Linked DNA regions of Homo sapiens: all the other regions are linked to region 4. Evidence: promoter capture Hi-C in human tissues and cell types (Jung and others, 2019). All regions are on one chromosome and are shown on one strand. Each heading gives the region's core, a stretch centred on a gene start or on the middle of the fragment in contact. The rest is flanking DNA. Distances are from core to core; before and after follow the strand shown. Region 1 has its middle 110 kb from the start of TNKS. Region 2 overlaps MFHAS1 (multifunctional ROCO family signaling regulator 1). Region 3 has its middle 92 kb from the start of TNKS. Region 4 holds the start of PPP1R3B (protein phosphatase 1 regulatory subunit 3B). Region 5 has its middle 59 kb from the start of CLDN23.

What was found. The method cuts DNA at HindIII sites, captures the fragments that hold promoters and counts their contacts. A contact is called where the count stands out against the background at its distance.
Region 1: a fragment that was not itself captured here is called in contact with the fragment with the promoter of PPP1R3B in region 4 in 2 of the 25 tissues and cell types used here (aorta and lymphoblastoid cells).
Region 2: a contact is called between a fragment that was not itself captured here and the fragment with the promoter of PPP1R3B in region 4, in 1 of the 25 tissues and cell types used here (hippocampus).
Region 3: a fragment that was not itself captured here is called in contact with the fragment with the promoter of PPP1R3B in region 4 in 1 of the 25 tissues and cell types used here (lymphoblastoid cells).
Region 5: a fragment that was not itself captured here is called in contact with the fragment with the promoter of PPP1R3B in region 4 in 1 of the 25 tissues and cell types used here (spleen).

The regions. Positions count from the first base shown.
Region 1 is chr8:9,446,037-9,448,736 of GRCh38, forward strand. No RefSeq gene overlaps it. Among named protein-coding and RNA genes, the nearest start is that of TNKS, 110 kb to the right of the region's middle. The HindIII fragment of the contact is 5,447 bases long and covers 1-2,700 here.
Region 2 is chr8:8,784,367-8,787,066 of GRCh38, forward strand. MFHAS1 (multifunctional ROCO family signaling regulator 1) reads right to left here. Exons shown (of 3, transcript NM_004225.3): 3 at 1-1,689. The coding sequence ends at 1,656. Among named protein-coding and RNA genes, the nearest start is that of CLDN23, 84 kb to the left of the region's middle. The HindIII fragment of the contact is 5,004 bases long and covers 1-2,700 here.
Region 3 is chr8:9,462,280-9,465,007 of GRCh38, forward strand. No RefSeq gene overlaps it. Among named protein-coding and RNA genes, the nearest start is that of TNKS, 92 kb to the right of the region's middle. The HindIII fragment of the contact is 4,800 bases long and covers 1-2,728 here.
Region 4 is chr8:9,149,351-9,152,082 of GRCh38, forward strand. PPP1R3B (protein phosphatase 1 regulatory subunit 3B) reads right to left here and starts at 1,308. Exons shown (of 2, transcript NM_024607.4): 1 at 1,213-1,308. PPP1R3B-DT (PPP1R3B divergent transcript) reads left to right here and starts at 2,375. Exons shown (of 5, transcript NR_183348.1): 1 at 2,375-2,566. RefSeq lists enhancers at 708-1,656, 1,703-1,942 and silencers at 1,293-1,562, 2,063-2,312. The HindIII fragment of the contact is 27,491 bases long and covers 1-2,732 here.
Region 5 is chr8:8,759,677-8,762,376 of GRCh38, forward strand. No RefSeq gene overlaps it. Among named protein-coding and RNA genes, the nearest start is that of CLDN23, 59 kb to the left of the region's middle. The HindIII fragment of the contact is 4,104 bases long and covers 1-2,700 here.

The DNA of each region.
Region 1 (2,700 bases), core at 62-2,561, 300 kb after region 4:
TCTCCCTTCATTTCATTCATTTGATCTTCAGTCACTGATACCCTTTCTTCCAGTTGATCAAATCGGTTACCGAAGCTTATGTATTCATCAGGTAGTTCTCGTGCCATGTTTTTCAGCTCAGTCAGGTCATTTAAGGACTTCTCTACACTGGTTATTCTAGTTAGCCATTCGTCTAATCTTTTTTCAAGGTTTTTAACTTCTTTGCGTTGGGTTCGAACTTCCTCCTTTAGCTTGGAGAAGTTTGATCGTCTGAAGCCTTCTTCTCTCAACTCGTCAAAGTCATTCTCCATGAAGCTTTGTTCCGTTGCTGTCAAGGAGCTGCGTTCCTTTGGAGGGGGAGAAGTGCTCTGATTTTTAGAATTTTCAGCTTTTCTGTTCTGTTTTTTCCCTATCATTGTGGTTTTATCTGCCTTTGGTCTTTGATGATGGTGACATACAGATGGGGTTTTGGTGTGGATGTCCTTTCTGTTTGTTGGTTTTCCTTCTAACAGTCAGGATCCTCAGCTGCAGGTCTGATGGAGTTTGCTGGAGGTCCACTCCAGACCCTGTTTTCCTGGGTATCAGCAGCAGAGGCTGCAGAAAAATGAATATTGCTGAATAGCAAATGTTTCTGCCTGATGGTTCCTCTGGAAGCTTTGTCTCAGTGGGGTACCTGGCCATGTGAGGTGTCAGTCTGCCCCTACTGGGGAGTGCCTCCCAGTTGGGCTACTCGGAGGTCAGGGACCCACTTGAGAAAGCAGTCTGTGCGTTCTCAGATCTCAAACTCCATGCTGGGAGAACCACTACTCTCTTCAAAGCTGTCAGACAGGGACATTTAAGTCTGCAGAGGTTTCTGCTGCCTTTTGTTTGGCTATGCCCTGCCCCCAGAGGTGGAGTCTACAGAGGCAGGCAGGCCTCCTTGAGCTGCGGTGGGCTCCACCCAGTTTGGGCTTCCTGGAGGCTTTGTTTACCTACTCAAGCCTCAGCAATGGCGGGTGCTCCTCCCCCAGCCTTGCTGCCACCTGGCATTTCTATCTCAGACTGCTGTGCTAGCAATGAGGGAGGTTCCATGGGCGTGGGACCCTCCGAGCCAGGTGCGGGATATAATCTCCTGGTGTACTGTTTGTGAAGACCATTGGAAAAGCGTAGTATTAGGGTGGGAGTGACCCAATTTTCCAGGTACCGTCTGTCACCCCTTCCCTTGGCTAGGAAAGGGAATTCCCTGACCCCTTGAGCTTCCCACGTGAGGCGATGCCTCGCCCTGCTTTGGCTTACGCTCAGTGGGCTGCACCTACTGTCCTGCCCCCACTGTCCAATGAGCCCCAGTGAGATGAACTTGGTACCTCAGTTGGAAATGCAGAAATCACCCATCTTCTGCGTTGCTCACGCTGGGAGCTGTAGACTGGAGCTGTTCCTATTCGGCCATCTTGGAACCTCCCCAGATGATCTCCCCACACCTAATTTTCTAATTAAAAAATTATTTAGAACTCGGCTGAAGATTCCTTCAAGAAGCAACATGAACCTGATCGTGGAGAGTAAGAAGGAATTCAGAGAAAAAAGGAGCTAGAGATGTCAAACAAAATGTCCCTGCCCTCAAGTGGCTCACAATCTATTAGCTGAGCATAGGAACTTCTGTGAGTGAATGGGATAAAGAATATCCCATTAAAACTATGTCTAGATATTTATTTCTTGCCCCTCAAAGGCATTTTTGAAAAAGCACAGCAGTTGGCCGGGCACAGTGGCTCACGCCTGTAATCCCAACACTTTGGGAGGCCAAGGCAGGCGGTCACGAGGTCAGGAGATCGAGACCATCCTGGCTAACACAGTGAAACCTCGTCTCTACTAAAAATACAAAAAATTAGCCGGGGGTGGTGGCGGGCGCCTGTAATCCCAGCTACTCGGGAGGCTGAGTCAGGAGAATGGCGTGAACCTGGGAGTCACAGCTTGCAGTGAGCTGAGATTGCGTCACTGCACTCCAGCCTGGGTGACACAGCCAGACTCCATCTCAAAAAAAAAAAAAAAAAAAAAAGAAGAGAAAAGAAAGAAGGAGAGAAAGCACAGCAGTTGCAGAGGAGTCCAGCCATTTCACAAGGAAGAAGAGGAAGCACACAGATAACTAATAGCCAAACATAAATGTCTACGCTTTTCGTTTGGATGGGCCATGGGCCACGTTCCAGCTAACATGATTCTTTCATCTCTCATCTCTTTCCGCCCTTTCCTTTCCTCCTGTGTTCTGATCCTGACTACCACCAGGCATCCTCAGAAAGGATTTTTCATGCTGATAATTAGACTTGATGTATTTATGGAGCTCTGTTTTCCCAGAGGATCATCCCATCTGAGGCTGACATCCCTTTGAAAGTTTGGAGAATGTGAAGCTTGGAAGAGCTAAACAGTTCCCAGAGACCAGAACCGCAGGGAATTAAACTTCAGGATGATCTTAAGATATTTAGTGCTCTTATCCTCCATGTGCAGAGTATCTCTTTGGAAAAATTTTGGTGGCAAAAGTCATTAATGAATCTATATAACACCCTGTTTAACCAAAGTATGGATCCAATTTTTAACTTGCTGTTTTGATCTCTATTAGATTTGTGGTTTGCAGAAGTTTGGACTACTTTACCCCATAACAAAAAAGGAGTCACATACACACACTGTAAGATGTTGAAGTCTGAGTCACTTGAGCTATCTTTTTATTGCACAAAGCTCCTGGGCGATCTTGCATGA
Region 2 (2,700 bases), core at 188-2,687, 360 kb before region 4:
CTAAAAGAAAATGAAATCTCAAACTTGAGGTGTCCTATTCAAGTATTAAAAAAATGCAAACATCGTCTGATCCCATTCGATTTTTATCATCATAAGAAATCATTCTCTGAACTGCAGGTTCTGGAGTCAGTGAAATTAATGCCTGGGGCACAAAATATTCTACAAAAATCGGTTTGTGATTTCTAGCAGGGCAGTCGCTTGCTCCTTATTTCTTTTAAAAAACATGTTGAGACTTTGTATACTGTAGCCTTCCAAGAGTCAATACTTTACAAAAGAAGTAAAAGAGTAGCGAGTACCAGCAACTCACTCTTCTTGTCTGAGGCTGGCGAGAAGCAGTCAGTTTTATACATTTTCGATCAACCCACGGAGGAGGCAAATGTAAACAGAGTTTTTTACACTCTCCGAAAAACATGTTACTACTGTAGCATATGCTGTTTGGCCCAATTAAAAGTAGAATGGAGAGCAATTTGTTTGGTTGGCTTTTTAAGTTTTACCTTGTGAAGATTTTAAAACAAGGGTATTACTAGTTCTTGGCAGGAGACCGTCCAATCAGAGGCTCTGTATTTATAAATAACCCGTGTGGGATTATGCTCTCCAGTGAATGTAACTGGAGCCTAAATTCACAACCTTAAGATCTGACAGCCAGATGTGGAAGGTCTACAAAGAGCTCTGCTAATAAGTAATATGTTTGCAAAGTGCTCTGCTAAGTAAGGTACTTATTAAGCAGAGCACTTTGTAAGATTCAGAACTGACTCCTGATTATCTTAAGCCATTAAAAGACTCAAGTTTTGCATGGACTTTTTGTCCTCTTTGGCCCCTGAGTGTGCCCCATCTCTGCCCAGCACTAATAACACGTTGGAAGAGCAAAGGATTTCCCACCAGCGTGCCAGATGATTTATATAGGCAGGGACCTTCATTGAAAAGAAGGGAAGGGACACTGTCTTAAATGCACATTTAAGGTTCTTTCTGATTATTGGCAATCTCTATGAACCAACACTTAATCCATGGGCTAACAGAGAGATTTTTTTTTTAATGTGAAGAGGATTAAAGAATAAAGAAAAAACAAAAAAGTCTTATACTAAAATAAGAAATCAGCCCCATCTTGGCACAGTTCTCATGCAGAATATTGCACCCAGTGTGAACTAACGCTAGAAGCTTCAAACTGTATAAATTTAAATGTATTTGCATATTATAAAAATAAAGATAAACATATACATATTTTACACTAGTTATGGAACAGCAATGAACGTCAGTCGATCCCTCTTTCACATTTAACAGAACTGAAATCTGAGTGCTCTAAATACTGCCACCTGTACTGTAACTATGGCTTATATGTGCACGGAAAACAAAATCCCTGAGAAGCCATTCGACTTTTTTTTTTTTTTTTTCTTTTCTTCAAGTAGCGCGCTCCTTGGAGGATCACAGTTCTGAGGTTCAGGTTGTAAAACATTTGCTCCATGTTCTCGTCCATGCTTCCCCCCACCACCCCCTCCCCACCTCTTCCCCAGTCGTCCAAAAAGCACCCTGCAAGCACGCGTTGTCACTCAAGTTCACAGAACACGCTGGGGTGAGTGCAGAGGGTCTGCCAGGTGCAAAAGATGGTCCAGGTGTTCAGATGCTCTCTTTTCTCCATGGAAATTCCACAGCCACAAACGTCACTGGTTTCTGTGCTTTTCACCAACATTCTTCCTGTATGGGTGGACAACAAGAAAGCACAGAGATGACAAAAACGTACTGGACAATGCTACCCTCAATAAGAAAAGGAAGTGATGATAGAAATCTATTTTCTGCACATATTTTCATTTCTACTTCCAGGACTCATTATAAACATGTAAATGTCAGGCAACTTATGTCCCCACAAAGGAAAGAGTCATTTTAGCAGTCTATTTGCCAAACATTTCTGTTGGTGTGTTAAGCTCAGTTCAGCTATAAGAGGGAACTGTACTAACTGGCTGTCATCACTTATTCCACTGTAATTTTATAGCTTAACTAGACCTCTAACTAACAACCCAAAACTCTAAACACGGAACTGTTTCCTTTCAATAAACACACACGGTCACACGCAGACACACACCAAATAATCCTCTAGAAGAAGGAATATATACTAAAAAGTGAGATGTCTGTCTGCCTAAAATGCATGATTTTACTTAAAATGTTATAAGTTAAGTTGTCCACGCAAATCTGGAGTCTGATCAATATAGAATGAATAAACTACTGCAGCCTCAGCAAATAAAGCGGGATTCAGTTCCGATAAAATGGTTAGAGGAAAAAATATCAAGTGTTTTTCTCATTTTTGCTTCCCTACAATGACATGTGATGGGATGTTTTTGAAAGTGGTTTTTTTTTTTTAGCAACTTTTAATAAAATATACAAAGACATTGAAAGGAAAGGAAAAAGGAGTTACGATTCGTTTCCTCCAATCCCCCATCTCTCATTAGGAGAGACGCTGATTTCATGGACACTGATAATTCAGCATCTGCCTAAACACTTCTCCAGTCCATACAAGATTCAGTCATGGGCTCATTCAAGCATGATAATAACGACATCACCAAAACAAAGCAAAGCAAAGCAAAACAAAACAAAACAAAACAAAAAAACCAAAAACCTCTCATTTACTAACTACATGCCAGGAATTAGGTTGTTCACTCTAGTGCATTATTTATCTTCAACTCCTAATAATCCCACCATGTAAGCTCCATC
Region 3 (2,728 bases), core at 79-2,578, 310 kb after region 4:
TGGCTATATGTAAGCTAAACATCCAAAATTCTACTGCCAAGGAGAAGAGAAGAATGGATACTGGGCCCCAGCCAGGGATCTGTGCTCCAGCAGACTAAGCAAATAACCAGGAGAAAAATAAGAAATGTTATCAGAGGGCTAAGCGCAATAGAATATTTCAAGCCACAATGCCTTCAGTATTAAATTATTGCAAACATTTAAGAAACAAAAAAATCCTTTCATCATTAAAAAAAACTATTCCAAATTAACTTTTGCTGCTGACATGGCAAACTGAAATAATACTTTTAGTAAAATGATTTATAATATGTGTTAAGAGCCATGAAAAGTGTCTATCCTTGACTCAATAATTTCAATTCTATAAGTATATCCCAGAGAAAAATACAATTATAGAGGAATAAATCTATGTAATATACTTATCATTGCACAGAAATATTACTAACAGAAAAAAATTAAAATCACCAAAATATTCATTAGTATATCAGCCAACAAGTAAATTAGTGTCCACCTTCTTAATAAAATTATCATGTAGTCATTAAAAATAATTACAAAGACTGTTTTGTAGCATAAAATGTAGAATGTAGGCTGGGTGTGGTGGCTCACACCTGTAATCCCAGCACTTTGGGAGCCTGAGGTGGGAGGATTGCTTGAGCCCAGGAGTTTGAGACTATCCTGGGCAACATAGTGAGACTCTGTCTGTACAAAAAAGAAAAAGGAAAAATTAGCCAGGCGTGGTAGTGCACACCTGTAGTCCCAGCTACTTGGAAGCCTGAGGCAAAAGGATCACTTGGGCCCAGGAGGTCAGAGGTTACAGTGAGCTGTGGTCACGCCATCACACTCCAGCCTGAATGACAGAGGAAGACCCTGTCTCAATTTTTTTTAAAGGACAATGTAAAGATGCCAAGTGATGAAAACAGAATTCAAAAAACATTGTTTTAAAAAGAATGAATAGCAATACAATAATGACAGAAGTGATTGTTTTGGTGAATAGGATTATTGTTTATTGTTTTCCTCAAATTTTCTAAATTTTCTCTAATTATTTGTGTAACTGAAAAATTTTTAAATAACAAACAAAAGATTAAATAACAATAACAGCTGTATCTATTGGACTTCACTGCCAACATAGCAAACACTTTGGACTACTCTTTGTATATGTTATCTAATTTAATCTGCACATTAACTCCATAAGTCACTACCAATATAGTCCCAATTTTGCAATAGAGGAACCGAAGCCACAAGAAATGTTAAGTTCTTCACCCAGGGACACAGCCAGGACCATGGCAGAGAGCGTTTCAATCCATATATGTCTGACTATAGAATCCAACATTTCAAACACTGGGCTAAAGAGCAAAGAGTAAGTGAAAGAAATACAAATAGCAAGTAACATTTCATGAGAGAAATGAGTGGGTAAGGCAATTGCCCAGGAAATCACATTGAGGGGAGAAATGAATACAGCTCATAAATTCAAAACCAAAAGTCCACAGCCTTCTGGATGTCACAGGGCTTTTGGTATCGTATTTTAATGTTTAGACATTCAACATTTTAAGAGCTCACTCCTTTGTGGTCAAGCCCTTTGAAACAATGAGCTTTATGCATGGCTTGTTTTTGTGCCTAATGATCCGTGGTAGAAGAACTTACTGTCTCGGTGACCTCTGTCTCCTGGCGACAGTGAGGCCCACCTGGTCTTCCCAGCATCCCTGTGGTTATGTGGCAGTTTATCAAATGGCCACAAGCACAATAGTGAATCAGTATTGAATGACAATAATTTCAAAGGTAAGTTCAAAAATAAGCTCTTTCTAAAATTCTTTTCATGAGTCATACCACAAGAGTAAAAAACAGATTTTGTGAGCAAGGAGGTACTTCTCTCACACAAATGACAAGTTTTTATATATAATAATAACTTAGAGTTGCTAACCTCCATATGCAGGAATGAAACTATTCTGCATTAGGTCATCAGCAATTCAGCTCTGATCTTTCTATCTGTTTTGAAGAACCTTTCCTTCATCTGAGGTCAATGTTTGTAGGATCAGAATAACATCCTGCATTTTTAATGAGCTTTTCAAATCACATATTTTGCAAAAGGTCATGCCTCCTGTGTTATTTTTATTTCATTTTGGAAGGAAAGTTAAATGTTTATAGCTCAATGGGCAATTTTAAGTTCTTCTACAAGATCCTGTTCAAAGGAAATACATTAGAGTTTGTGTGTATTCTGTAAACTTGCATTTGGGAGAGAATATGATGTGCATATGTGTCCACATGGTGATCATAATTCCTCTAATATGATACCCTTGGGTTTAATCATACCATGTTAATTCAACTGGACTTAGAGTTCTAATTAATTTAAAATTCTAATACAAATTTTAATGAATTCCTAAGCAAAAGACCTTCCTTGTTCTTGAATAGGACATTTCAACATCATAATGATGTGAGTTCTCCCTGAGTTTAGTTATAAATATAATGCAATCATAGTTTTTAAAATAAGCTTTTATTTTTCTGGAGGTAGGCAAGTGGTAACAACATTCTTATAGAAAAATAAATAAGCAAGAATAGCTAAGGAAGCTCTGAAAAGGAGGAACTGTGAAAGTGATTAGCCTTCTTAGGTTGTAAAACATACTACAAAACCTCTGTAATTAAAGTAGTGTGGTATTGGCATATAAATAGATAAACAGACCAATGGGAGTGGAATAAAAGTCTAGATCTTAACTGCATATGGAAACTTAGAGTGTGATAA
Region 4 (2,732 bases), core at 58-2,557:
AAATTAGCTGGGCGTGGTGGCGGGCGCCTGTAGTCCCAGCTACTCAGGAGGCCGAGGCAGGAGAATGGCGTGAACCCGGGAGGCGGAGCTTACAATGAGCCAGAGATGGCGCCACTGCACTCCAGCCTGGGCGACAGAGCGACACTCCGTCTCAAAACAAACAAACAAAACCAAACAAACAAAAAAATCAGATGCACAAGCAACCCACCAGGAACACTGAAAGCTGCCGAACTGCATTCAGTAAACATTCACAACCAGGTTATAATTTTCATTTTTAAAGACATGGCCATCTACCTCCCTCCAACAATTCTGTGTTCCCTTCCAAAAGGTTTCACTGATCCAGCATGAAGAGAGTGCATGTCTTTCCCCTTTGTACTCAGACCATGGGGGCCTATTCACAGCCTTAAAGGCTCCTTGTACCCCTTGATCCTGTCCCCATCATCCAAAGCATCTTGGAGACTGACATTTGTGAATACAGTTGCATATTCTAGGAAAGAGGCAAGTTCAAATGACACAGCCCCTGCCGTCTAAAAACGTACGAGGGAAAACAGAGTACTAGGCTAAGAATGCCCGCACCTTGCTTTGCTACTTGAGCGAGTCACTCAGCTGCTCTGGGCTTGAGGTCCCCTCCAAGGTCCCTGCTGGCCCTGACATTGTATGTTGCGACCCACCCCTGGTGCCGCTTCTCTTCCCACTAACTTTTTTTCCTAAATACCTCAACTGTACTTTTGTGTAAGTCCTCCAGCTGTCTTCACTTTAGTTTTGGCTCCTGGACAACTCTGCCCAAGGAAACATTTCCTCCTCTCCTCCTCTTCCTCCCAGACCAAAGCTCTAATTGTCTCTTCTGCTGCACCCTGGGTCTCCCAGGCAGGCCCCCGCCACTCAGACCACAGGTTCCAACACCTTCCAAGTCTCCAAGTTCCCAAGTCCAGTCTTTCCTCTGTTTTCTCCTCTTTTTCAGAAAACAGTGCTCTGACAGGCCCCAAATCTTCCAGTAAGTCATTACCGGCCCCCACTCCCTCTTTTGCAGCTACTGTGCCTTCCACACCCCTTTTTCTGGATTCCAAAGAGACGCAGGAGCAGGCCAGTGCTCTCCAGGCTGGAGGATCCCACAAGTTACTCTCCGACTCTGTCCCCTCCGTCCAGTTTGACCAGGGCTGCACTCCGCCCCCAACCTCCCTACAAGCCTCCTTGGCCTCGCGCCGCACCCACCTTTTGGGCCGCGGAGAAGCCCCCTCCCCAGCTCGCTCGCCGCATCGGAGAGCCCGCAGGGTTGTGGCAAGCGCGACTACGTGAGCGTCGGTGTGTCCGGGAGGCAGGGCCTGGGCTGGGTTCCCGGAGATGTCGGCGGTGGGAGGAAGACGACGAGGAGGAGGAGCCCGTTATCGCACCCGGGCGGGGCCGGCAAAGGGGCAACCCCGGCCGGAGCAAGCAGCGCGACACCAGCACCCCCGCGCGGCCGCCTGGCCTCCGCCAGCCCGGGACGGGGATCGTGCTAGGTCCCGTCGCCCTCGGTGGCCTGAGAGCCTACCAAGTGTATTTCCTCGCGTTTTATAGGGAAAATAAGGCCCGGAGAGAGACGAAGCGGCTTGTCCTTAAGCTCCAAACCCCACTACCCAACTTTGGAGAAGTCTCCAGACCTCTCGGGACCCGGGGCTGGGAACTTGTGCTAGTTTCGAAGCCAGAACAACAGGTGGTAAAGGGATCAGCCGCCGCAGCCGCAGCTCCCGGGTCACGGTCGCAGCCGGGCCCAGCAGCGCGGTGGAGCACGTGGGCCCGGGAGGCGCTTCCCAGCTGCGGTCCCTGGATCGCCCTCTCCACGCTGAAGCAACAGCTCCCTGGGGCCAGCTACCTAGAGTGTTCCAGCCCCGGTGTGCCAGTGCAAGTCGCACGGTGAAAATGTAGGTGACAGGAACCCAAAGAGGTCCCCGCTGCACGCCCTCGCCTTGTTGTCCCCAGCCCTTCCCTCGGACTCGAGACTTGGGGAGCTACGTACCGGGTTCAGCTCATAAGTCCCGAGGGCAGACGCGCCAGCCCGCGGCAGCATACGCCCTGGGGGAACAGGGACAGCTGCCGTGACGGCAGGAGCTGGGCCCGGGCTCGGGTTCGCGCCCCCCGCGGGCGGCGAAGTCCGTCCGTGCACGAGAGCTGCGCGGTCACCTCCTCCCTCCAGCAGTCACCCGGGACTCGAGCTCCCCGCGGCCGCGCTGCCCCCTTTAACTTTCCTGCCAGCTCTCGGGACCCCGGGGTCCATCCCAGGCCCCCTGCCACGTGAACGCCCCCCGCAGCCAATGGGCGCGCCCGGGACTCCAGCCGCCGACCAATGGGCGCGCAGCCACGGCGCTGGGGAGCACCGCTTCGCCACGTGATCGGCAGCGCGCCCGGAGTGATCCGGCTGCGGGCCAGGGTCTGGGAAGGGGGTGGTGGGTCGCCGTTTCATCAGAAGCCGGAGGACGGGCGCCAGGGGGCAACTTCCTACAGGAGGGCGTCCCGTTAGAATGACAGGGCTTTTGCAAAAGTCTGACACCCGTGGCACAGAGCGCCCCAGATATGGAGGGTTTCACAGGTAGGTATACTTCAGAAGAAATTTCCTGACTTGAATCGGTTATAATCGCTATCTAAATCTACAGGGCCTCCGCGATGCATATTATGCACCTTGAGATCTATAGAAAATGGTCTTAGAAAAAGAAAAAAATGATGACCTTAAAGAGTTTGAATCAGAGGCTCTTCCT
Region 5 (2,700 bases), core at 115-2,614, 390 kb before region 4:
AGCTATGATCATGCCACTGTATTCCAGCCTGGGTAACAGAGCAAGACTCTGTCTCAATTTTTGTTAAGTATAGAATATCCGAAATGTATGTTGCATGAATAAATGAGTGAAACAAATAGACTAGTGCAGTCCTAAGTAAAATGCTTAGTAAATACTTACGACAGCATCAAGCTTGAGTTGTGTGGATGTCTAATGATCTGGAGCCAATGAATTGCTCCTCCCACCCCAGAAATAAAATAATATCTATCCATGAAAATAAACATTTCTCTAGAGTTCACTTAGAACTTTAGGACTCAGGTACATTTCAATAAATGTATATTTTTCTGATGGGAAATGGAAGGTAGTTCCATTACAAAGTAATTAGGAAATGCAAAGGAAGTATTTTATATATATATAATATTATTTATTATAAATAAGATATGTATATTATTTATTATAAATAAGAGATATGTAATATTATTTATTATAAATAAGATATATCTTATTTATTATAAATAAGATATATCTTATTTATTATAAATAAGATATATATAAAGTCTTACTTCACCACCTTCTGAGTCTTCTTTCCTATGCACCTTTTTCATATATCACCCTCAGTTATGATGTTAAAAATAAAAAGTATTCTTTTCCTTATAAAAGCAACACAAACTCACTCAAAAAGATTAGAAAATACAGAAAAGCATCAAAAAGAAAATAACACTGCCAATAATTTCATTATTCAGAGATGTAACTACCCTGGGGGATATGCCTTCAAAGTATACTTGCTGTTACCCCATAAGACAAACTTGTGGAAAAAGCCATACACTGGATGTGGCCCAAAAATCCAAAGCTTAAAGTCTGCTCTCTGATTTTCCTTGGCCCCACCTTGACTATTTTAGGATGGGTTAACTTAGGGGGAAAACACTGGAATCTTCCAAGAGTTTGGAGTTCCTGCAGAAAAGCCTGTTCCAAAAAAGTATGAAACCATCCTTGCCTTCCTGTAGGATCAAGGTGTGCTGGCACTGGTTTGCTCTCTCTGGCCCTTGACTTTGCTCAGGGATTCAGAGCCAGAGTCATCCATGAAGGCCCATCTTGCTGTGTTTCTTTCTGTTATCCTTAAAATAATCATTTGAAAATAAATAGGCTGTTGTCCCCACCACCTTGGGATTTTCCATTAAACCTGGCTTTATGGGCTGTGACATTCGTAGTCAACACCAGCAGAAGTCAATTCTGTAGCTTTGATGTTCTGCAGGGAGAGAGGAACCAGGTGACCAGCTGGGAGACAAGGCAATCTCAAATAAGGAACAAGTAATTAAGGGACGAACAGCAGCTGTGTTTCTTAAATGACTTTTATAATTTTAAAAATTTATAATTATAAAAGCTTTAAGGTAAAGCTTATTGTGGGTGTTTGTGAAACAGAGTGAAGTATTAAGGAGAAGGGAAAAATAACCCATCCTCCCAAATCTAAAGTAATCTGTTAGCTTTTTATCTTTTTATTTTATTTTATTTTATTTTATTTTATTTTTATTGAGATGAAGTCTTGCTCTGTCACCCAGGCTGGAGTGCAGTGGCATGATCTCTACTCACTGCAACCTCCACTTCCCAAGTTCAAGTGATTCTCTTGCCTCAGCATCCTGACTAGCTGGGACTATGGCACATGCCACCAAAGCCCGCCTAATTTTTGTATTTTAAGTAAGAATGGGGCATCACCATGTTGGCCAGGCTGGTCTCGATCTCCTCACCTCAAGTCATCTGCCCACCTCGGCCTCCCAAAATGCTGGGATTACAAGCATGAACCACTGCACCCAGCCTTATCTTTTTGAGACAGTCTCTCACTCCGTCATCCAGGCTGGAGTACAGTGGCCCGATCTCAGCACTCTGCCTCCCAGGTTCAAGGGATCTTCCCACCACGGCCTCCGGAGTAGCTGGGACAACAGATGTGCACCAGCATGCCTGGCTAACTTTTTTATTTTTTGTAGAGACAGGGTTTTGCCGTGTTGCCCAAGGTGGACTCAAACTCCTGGGCTCAAGCAATCCACCCACCTTCGCCTCCCAAAGTGCTGGGATTACAGGTGTCAGCCGTTGTGCCGGCCCCCTCTGTTAACTTTTTGTCTTGCATTTGTCTTCACGTGTGTTGAAAAATATTGTATGCAAAACTCACAACCTCATTTCTTTACTAAGACTGCATACAAATTTCTGTATATTATTAGAACAGTCTTCAGAAGCATCATTTTAGTGACATTTTCTATCACATACTGTGCTGAATCATTTTCCTGCTGTTGCTTTTAATTTTTGTTGGAAACATCTTTTATACATACATTTTTGACCATCTCTTTATAATGTTGGGATAGACGTCTGAGAGTAGAGTTACTTGATGAAGGGATTTGGATGCTTTAATGACTTTTAACAGATATTGCTAATTGCTTTCCATAGCGCTCCAACTTCCACTGCTGTAACCTCAGTGTGCTGTGACCTATGAGTCCAAAAAAGGCAACCTTTAAAGGGATAGTGTTTGAAAGCATCTATAGCACTACATGTCAAAAATAAAATGGGTTTACTAACACAATCCCTCTTAGCATCTGTATTTTATAATCCTTTTTTTTTTTTTTTTATGAGACAAGATCTTGCTATGTTGCCCAGGCTGGTCTTCAACTCCTGGGCTCAAGCAATCCTCCTGCCTCAGCCTCACAAGTAGCTGAGGTTATAGGCATGCACCGCCAT